Linked DNA regions of Homo sapiens: region 2 is linked to region 1. Evidence: promoter capture Hi-C in 16 types of primary human blood cells and fetal thymus (Javierre and others, 2016). All regions are on one chromosome and are shown on one strand. The core of a region is centred on a gene start or on the middle of the fragment in contact, and the rest is flanking DNA. Distances in the headings are between cores, read along the strand shown.

Region 1 (4,371 bases), core at 1,098-3,597:
ACTTTGAGGGGTTCAAGACTTCAGTGGAGGATGTAATTGCAAATGCGGGACACACAGCAGGGTCTCACTCTGTTGTCCAGGCTGGAGTGCAGTGGCACGATTGTGGTTCACTACAGCCTCGACCTGCTGGGCTCAAGCATTCCTCCCACCTCAGCCTCCCAAGTAGCTGGAACTACAGGTGCACATCATGCCCAGCTAAGATTTGTATTTTTTTGTGAAGATGAGGTTTCACTATGTTGCCCAGGTTGGTCTTGAACTCTTGAGCTCAAGCAATCCTCCTGTCTCAGCCTCCCAAAGTGCTGGGATTAATGTTGCAATCTCATGATAAAACTTGAACAGATGAGGAGTTACTTCTTACGAAGGAGCAAAGAAAGTGGTTTTTTGAGATGGAATCTCCTGGGGAAGATTCTGTGAACATAGTGGAATGGCAACAAAGGATTTAGAATATTACATAAATATTAGTTGATAAAGCAGTGGCAGGGTTTGTGAAGATTAACTCCTTTTTTTTTTTTTTTTTTTTTTTGAGACAGGGATTTTCTCTGTCACCCAGGCTGAAGTGCAATGGCGCAATCATGGTTCACTGCAGCCTTGACCTCCTGGGCTCAGTGGATCCTCCAACTCAACCTCTTGAGTAGCTGGGACTACAGGCATACGCTGTCACCACATGGCTATTTTTTAATTTTTTGTGGAGACGGGTTTCACCATTTTGCCCAGGATTTTTAGCCCAATTTTAACATCAACGTGTGTACACTGTTTTTTAGACATAATGCTATTGTACTTTTAATATATTACAGTATAGTGGAAACATGTTTATTATATACACTGGGAAACAACAACAAAAAATTGAGTGTGGCTCTCTTTTTTGCAATGGCCTGGAACTGAACCCCCAGTCCCTCCAAGGTATGCCTGTAAATGGACCAAACAGGAAGCAATTTCGTGGGTTTCATATTAAAAGCTTTAAACATTTATATAACTGTTATTTATACAAAGTGTGCTTACAGGCATTTACTATGTAAAATTGTAACTCATAACTTTGCTTTAGTTAACAATTGTTGAATAAAAAGTTATCAGTGGAATAGCCAGTCTCTGTAATAAATGCATATTGGTAAATTTTCTCTGAGCCAAGTGTACAGTTTGTAAATTTTCTTTCTGTTATGTTTGTTCTGATTGTTTATTAAGTATAACTTTGGGTCTGTCAAATTAAATATTTAAAAGTAAGCTTACGTTTTGCATAGTTGTTTTTAAATTTCACTTTTTCTTTCTTTTTCTTTTTTTTGAGACGGAGTCTCGCTCTGTCGCCCAGGCTGGAGTGCAGTGGCCACAATCTCGGCTCACTGAAGCCTCAATCTCATAGGCTCAAGCGATCCTCCCACCTCAGCCTCTCTACTAGCTAGGACTCCAGGCATGGGCCACCACGCTCAGCTAATTTTTAAAAATCTTTTACTTTTTGTAGAGATGGGGGTCTCGCTATGTTGCCCAGGGTGGTCTGGAACTCCTGGGCTCAAGAGATCCGCCCTCCTCGGCTTCCCAAAGTGCTGGGATTACAGGCGTGAGCCATTGCGCCCAGCCTCGAATAATTTAATTTTAATGTTAATTTAGTAAGTATCAGTCACGGACAGATTGGAAAAAGAAAAACATCTGATCCCTCATCTTGATAGTGAGTAGCACTGGTTTACACAGCTAGGCTGCTCCTTGAAGGCTGACACTGCATTTTATTCAAATTTTCCTGACAGTGGGACTTAGGCAATTATATATTGAATAAATAAATGAATTTTCACTCTGCTGCTGGGTCCAGTGGTCTCATAAAATGTCTATCATAATTTCTCAATGATTAGCCTTGGTAACATCTACTTAAGTTTATTAAATGCCAGGATCCACGCTACGCCCTTCACCATTCATTCCCCAGCCTTCGCTCCCACGGTCTCTGTGGGGATGGGGCGTGCCCAGCACTACGGCCCGCCCTACCTATGCATTCGTTGGTCGAACTCGACGCCCGTTACTGCCGAGTCCCGCCCAGGCCTTGCCCCCTCGTAGTCGGCCAGGCCGAGAGGAGGCGTGGCCACTGCCGCGCCGGGGCGGTCTGGCGGAGGGGGGGGAGGTCTCCCCTCGTCTCGTGATACTCTGGGCGAGCTCGCGGGCGGGCTGTGGGTCGCGAGCCGCCGTGGGAGCGCGTGTCGCGGTCCCCAGGAGCCGCCGGCCGACGCTCCGCCCCGCCCCCTTGGCGCCCAGGTCCCGCGCGAGCTCGCGCACGCGCGCGCGCGCACCCGCCAGAGGCTTGTTTGAGGCCCGCGGGGACTGGGCGGGCGGAGGCCGGGCTGCCGAAGTGTGAGGGGAGGAGCCCGAGCCGTCGCTGCTGCCGCCGCTAAGGGAGAGGAGCATGTCTGCAACTCGAGCCAAGAAAGTGAAGATGGCCACCAAATCATGCCCCGAGTGCGACCAACAGGTGGGTGCCGGGGGCCGGGCGCGCGGGCGGGCGGCAGTGGCTTGGCGGCCGTTGTCTGTGGAGGGGGGCCTCGCCGGGCTCCCGGAGGCCGAGCGGTGGGCAGATCCTGGGGCCCGCCGGCGGCGGCGGGGATCCGGGGCCGGTCGGGCTGCACCGAGGGGTTTCCCGGGAAAAGCCCGGGGCCGTGGCCCGCCAGCGTCCACCTGGCGGCGGCCAGACGGCCAAGCCCCTTCTTGCTGTGTCCCGGCCACTGGAGGAGCGCGCCTTTGGTGGGCTCACCGGGCGGCTGTCTGGAGCCCCAGACTCTCCTCGCCGGCGGCGGTGACAGCGGTGGGAGCCTGCGGGCCGCAGCCCCGGCGAGAGTGTGCCGCACGCCCGCCTCCGAGGCCAGGCCCTAGCTCCGAGAACCCCTCCTGCGGCCGGGGCGGCTTTGTTCCCGGTTCCGACGGGTGCGGGGCTTCCCCAAAACGGCCCCTCCGCGACCGGGGCGGGCGCCTGAGTGGGACAAAGGGGGCCGCGTGTAATGATTTTGAGTTTCGGCGAATTTGGAGATTTTTTCCCCTTCCTCATCTATTTATTATATTTTTGCTGTGCAATCGCGAATCCTGCCTTTACATCGTTTTTAATGGGTCATGATTGAATAAAGCCCCTGTTTAAGCCCTTCCTCCTTTTTGGGCGCTCCTAACTTCCCCACCCCTCGCAGTATCCACTGTTACAAATTTGGCCTGTCTGCTTCCAGATCTGTATCCCTGTCTGTCTGAATGTCTCTGTGTGTCTCTCTCTCTCTCTCTCTCTCTCTCTCTCTCTCTCTCTCTGTCTGTCTCTCTCTATCTCTCTATCTCTCTATCTCGTTTCTTGAATTTGAAACGATTCCTTTCTACATTGAGTTCATGGTGTAATAGTTGTAATTTAAAACATCTCATTTCAGTGATCGCTGTGTTGAAGCGTGTCTCAATTCTTTACTGGAATAATAGACATTCCTTTAAGCCTTAACATCTAATGAGTTAAAACTACTTCAGTTAAAACCATTCGTAAGGCCCTCGTTTGTTACCAACATGTAGATCTGGGTGTGTTTTTTCCTTTTCCACTGAGTGGATTTTTTCAAAATGACTACCTTTCTCTCCTCCCCTCCCCCCACCGCCTTTTTTTTTTTTTAAATCAAGAGTAATTTGAAATGGCTGGAGACTTTTTAATAAGCTGATTTTAGTGCATTTTTCAAGGAGAATTCTTGTAGGTTTTTCAAATCTTTTAACAGAAAACATGTTACATGTTTTATTAAGTATCCTTTATGGGCTGTAGTAAAAATGCTTATCAGAAAAAGGTTGTGCAAGAAATACAGTGTAGGAGCTATACCAGTATGCAGTATAAAAACAGTTTAGTCATGTTTTCCAAAGAGTTACTTTCATTCTTACTACTGAACTAAATTTGTTAAATTTTGACAAAACTGGACTTTGCAATATGACTCTTTGCGGGAGATTATTTCAGTGTTTAAATCATTTCCAATTATTCCAGTTAATTGTGTAGAAGTGTAAGGTTTACATGGTATGCGTTATGCATTCCAATTTCTGTAAGGCACAAGTATTTGCAAATCCTGACTTTGTTCTAATTGGCATAAAGCAACCTTTTGGGAAAAATAGCCACTTTTTATGGCTATTTTTATATAAAAGAGCAAAGGATAATAAACTTATAGGAGTTTCTGAAAAACTGTTCAACAAAACAAGATCAGCGTTTTATTTGGAAAGATCACATTCATTTTGTTATACACCCCCTCCCCCATATTTATTCTTTCATATAAAATCAGCTTACCCAGCTTTGGCTGCCATAACAAAAGCATGATTATGTTCTGGTGAGGGCTCTCTTCTTGGCTTGCAGATGGCTGTCTTCTTGGTGTCCTCACATGGCAGAAAGAGGGTCAAGCTCTCTCCCTT
Region 2 (4,596 bases), core at 287-2,786, 170 kb after region 1:
TCATTTGAAAAATGTAAAATAATTTACAGATGTCAAATAATAGGCTAATTTGTCATAATGTTCTAGTTTAAGATAATTCCTAGGCTGGGCGTGGTGGCTCATGCCTGTAATCCCAGCACTTTGGGAGGCTGAGGCAGGCAGATCACCTGAGGTCAGGAGTTTGAAACCAGCCTGGCCAACATTGTGAAACCCCATCTCTACTAAAAATACAAAAATTAGCTAGGCGTGGTGGCAGGCGCCTGTAATCCCAGCTACTTGGAAGCCTAAGGCAGGAGAATCGCTTGAACCTGGGAGGTGGAGGCTGCAGTGAGCCAAGACTGTGCCATTGCACTCCTGCCTGGGCAACAAGAGTGAAACTCCGTCTCAAAAATAATAATAATAATAATTCCTAAACGCAGTATCCTTTTAGCAATACAGTTTTGGTCAAGATTTGTAAGTTAAATAAAATTTTGCTTGTTTTTCTTTTTTTGACAGAGTCTGGCTCTGTCACCCAGGCTGGAGTGCAGTGGCAATCTCAGCTCATTGCAACCTCTGCCTCCCAGGTTCAAGCAATTCTCATGCCTCAGCCTCCTGAATAGCTGGTATTATAGGCGCCCGGCACCACGCCCAGCTAATTTTTGTATTATTACTAGAGATGGGGTTCCACCATGTTGGCCAGGCTGGTCTCAAAACTCCTGACTTCAAGTGATCTGCCCACCTCAGCCTCCCAAAGTGCTGGGAGTACAGGGATGAGCCACTGAGCCGAGCCAATTTTGCTTGTTTTAAAGGGTTGTTTTTTTTTTTTTTTTTTTGATAGTCAGTAATTGTTCAAACTAGGAATTGTATCCCCATCTTTCTTTTTTCATAATTACTCAGGTAATTGATGAGTGTAACAGAAGCTCCTCAAAACAGTTTTATTAAATTGCCTTTCATTTTTTGTGGTACGTGCTTGATCATGAATTTGTACATATTCTTTTGTAGGTAACAATTCAGGTTTTAAACCAGCTTATCCAAAAGATTCGAGAAGACCTCCCGAATCTTGAATCCAGTGAAGAAACAGAGCAGATTAACAAACATTTTCATAACACACTGGAGCATTTGCGCTTGCGGCGGGAATCACCAGAATCCGAGGGGCCAATTTATGAAGGTCTCATCCTTTAAAAAGGAAATAGCTCACCATACTCCTTTCCATGTACATCCAGTGAGGGTTTTATTACGCTAGGTTTCCCTTCCATAGATTGTGCCTTTCAGAAATGCTGAGGTAGGTTTCCCATTTCTTACCTGTGATGTGTTTTACCCAGCACCTCCGGACACTCACCTTCAGGACCTTAATAAAATTATTCACTTGGTAAGTGTTCAAGTCTTTCTGATCACCCCAAGTAGCATGACTGATCTGCAATTTAAAATTCCTGTGATCTGTAAAAAAAAAAAAAAAAAAAAACACAAAACCCACAAGCACTTATCTTGGCTACTAATGAAGCTCTCCTTTTTTTTGTTTGTTTGTTTGCTTCATTGTTGATTGTGTATTTTCTTCATTCCTGGGGAGTACTAACCCAAAAGCGTCTGTCTCTTGTTTTCTAGTCCAGTTTGAGATTAATTTAGAAGAAAGGAATACTGTATGTGAAATTCATCTTGGGCTTTCCCCTAAATTGCAAGATAAGGCCATGTGTAAGATTTTCCCTAAAACTAGAATATATTAATGCATGTTTGAGAATTTTAAAGCACCATGGTCAAAACCAGAAGCTATATTTTGCATATTTGGACTCAGCCATCCATTAAGAACCCATGTTGTCCTCTGGACATATTTATCAATATAATTGGGTTTTAAATAGTATAAAAGAAAACTTGTGATCTATATAATTTATGTATCACCTTCATTGTAAATTTAGCAGGAAATGCATCACAATTATGATTTTTTTTTTTGCACCAGTGAAACAATAAAGATGCTATTAACAATTTTGGAGCTTTTTTTCCCCTTTCATACTATCTTTAATTGATAAAAAGTACTAGTAGTATGGCTATAGAGTTTAATAGTCATTCTCATATATTCACAGAGCTCACTTAACTCTAGTTTTAAGCACTTGTTGAACAAGGCAGCATCTACTCTTTTAGTCATTTATACCCCTTTTCTTTCCTCAACTTTACCCTGCTTTTCCCAAGGCATGATGAATTCACATAAACCCCCCAAAGGCTCACCACCGATACTAGTTACCTACTATATAATAAACCATCCCAAAACTTACTGTCTTAAAACAGCAAACATTTATCTCACAGGTCTCTGGATCAGGAATTTGGGAGCAGCTTAGCTGGTGGTTCTGGCAAAGAGTGTGGTGTAAGGTTGCAAACAAGATACTGGTTGGGGCTGCAGTCATCTGATGCTTTGACTGGGGCTGACTTTTCTGCTCACTGACCTGGCTGTTAGGCAGAGGCCCCAGTTCCTCTTCTTGAGGGCAGAGGCCCCAGTTCCTCTCCTTGAGGGCAGAGGCCTAAGTTCCTTTCCTTGAGGGCAGAGGCCCCAGTTCCTCTCCTTGACGGCCCTTCCATAGAGTGTCCTCACAGCATGGTGGCTGGCTTTCCCCTGAGTATGAAAGCAAGAAGGAAACCACAGTGCCTTTCAGTGGCCTCCCTGTGGAAGTGACATGCTCATTTTTGCCTTATTCTGTAAGTGGGGAGTCACTAAGTCTAGCCTATATTCAAGGGTAAGGAGAATTAAGCTCCACCTCTTAAAGGGAAAATTTATAGACATTTTCAAATGACTACATCACTTAACCCCTCACCATCTGCCCTCCCATTGCTAGCACTTGATGACTAGCCCTTGCTGGGCTTTACATGAACAGATGTTTCCCAAAGTTATAAAATTAGTACCACTAAAATGTATCAAATGTTAAGCCATTCTGTGGTATGTCATAGTCCAGCAAACCCTTTCTGTTCTTTGTAGGTGTTAGTTTACCCCGTATAAACCTGATTATGGCTTGACATGTCCATATTATTTACATGTTTTGTGAAATACAACTGGAATAGTAGAAAAGACATGAGTCAAGAACACTTGAGTTGGAGAGCTTGGTTTGCAAGTAAGGTAATGTCAGTACAGTGTGTAAATTATCTCTTATTTTCTGGGTTGAGGTAAACCCAATTTTAAAAATAATAAACCAACAAAAGTAAATAAAAGTGAAACAAAAGCACTGCTAGTATCCTTAACTTACAGATTTTTTTTGTTGAACAAAAACTGGGTACCAGATATAGTTAGGCACTGAATCTAAAGGTGAAGAAGATCATAGCCTCTAGCTTCAAGAACGTTAGTCTGCTGTGAAGACAGACCTGTAGTTACAGAAGATGGTAAGGGTTTGTGCAGGAGAGCAGTGAAGAAGAGCTTTGAGGGATTGGGGATGGGGAAGTTCTGCAGAGGGTTGTATGAATTCTCATGGAACATCAAGTCCAATAGTTTATTTAGCCTTCTGAGGCCAGTGCTTTGGCCTGCAGTCCCAGGCTCCTCAGACCCATGGGCTGAAGCAAGTTATACTCTTGGCTGCCTGTAGTGAAATAGATATTTAGAAATTGACTTAGCATTTAAAACCCTTTATAGCAATTTGACAGAGTAATTTTATGTCTATTGGATGTAATAAATATTTGGCTTTGTGCTTTGTGTGTCTGCTATTCCCTGTTCTCCTTTTTTAGTAATTTTTATTGTGTCTTACAAAAAAGTACCTGTCCTTAATTGGGGTGTGGTGGGGAATCCCTCACAGGTGGATGGAAACGCTGAACCAGGGCAGGCTTGGTGCTGAATGGCATTAAATTCCAAGACTAGGGGATAGTTTGGGGGGACACATCTAGGAAGATGCTGTGACTGGATGAGAGATGCCTGCCGTGTTAGACTTTCCTACCCTCCCTTTCCTGCCTCTACCCAGGAAACCAGTGATTCTTAGAGTCCAGATGATCCCTTCTTTGCCTAGAAATTCATGTTTCTGACTCATCCTCAAGCCTGAAATTGGTGGTCATCAGGTTAATGAACTGCAAAAACAGCCCCTGCTGATAGACACTGCTCAAAGAGAGAGGCGTTTGAGTTGATCAGGCACCAGAGCACCTAGAAGGAGAATGATGAGCACTTGTGTACAGTTCGTGTGCAGCTCTCAAAGGCATTGAGAAATGTGACAGACCTCAAGGAATAAATGCACCACCACAGGCACTGAGGGGATTTAAACACAAAGTCTAGGTTCCAGAGGGGTCTTCTGTTAACATTTGCTCTCTCATTCAGAGACCTCAAGGTAATAAGCTCAAGCAGAAAGGATTTCCCAACAGAATTGTCTTTGACAATGGGAATTCCAGACTGCATATTGTAAATGAAAGGTAGAGAAATCTGTGCAGGAGACCTTCCTGTTTGCTGGGGTTTGTCCTATGGGGATGCTGTAGGCATGGACAACAGACACTGATTCAGGTGCCAGTATCTACACATTTACCATACACTTGAATTCCCAAGAGTAGTGACTTGCCTTAGGTTTGATTAAAGACAAATGTTTCCTGGCTTGTGGTCTTGTATTGCTGATTACTCCAGTAGGGCACCCTGCATTGTCCAACAAAATGGTCCATGCTTCCAAAATCTCTGGAGAGGGACTGTATATT

The links. Contacts are between HindIII fragments. The CHiCAGO score rates a contact against its expected background, and 5 or more counts as called.
Region 2: a fragment that was not itself captured here is called in contact with the fragment with the promoter of C16orf87 in region 1 in 1 of 17 cell types (neutrophils); the score reaches 6.0 in neutrophils.

Annotation. Positions count from the first base shown.
Region 1 is chr16:46,829,156-46,833,526 of GRCh38, reverse strand. C16orf87 (chromosome 16 open reading frame 87) reads left to right here and starts at 2,347. Exons shown (of 4, transcript NM_001001436.4): 1 at 2,347-2,443. The coding sequence starts at 2,378. RefSeq lists a silencer at 2,001-2,650. The HindIII fragment of the contact is 5,874 bases long and covers 1,222-4,371 here.
Region 2 is chr16:46,657,016-46,661,611 of GRCh38, reverse strand. VPS35 (VPS35 retromer complex component) reads left to right here. Exons shown (of 17, transcript NM_018206.6): 17 at 961-4,596. The coding sequence ends at 1,140. Among named protein-coding and RNA genes, the nearest start is that of VPS35, 30 kb to the left of the region's middle. The HindIII fragment of the contact is 9,807 bases long and covers 1-4,596 here.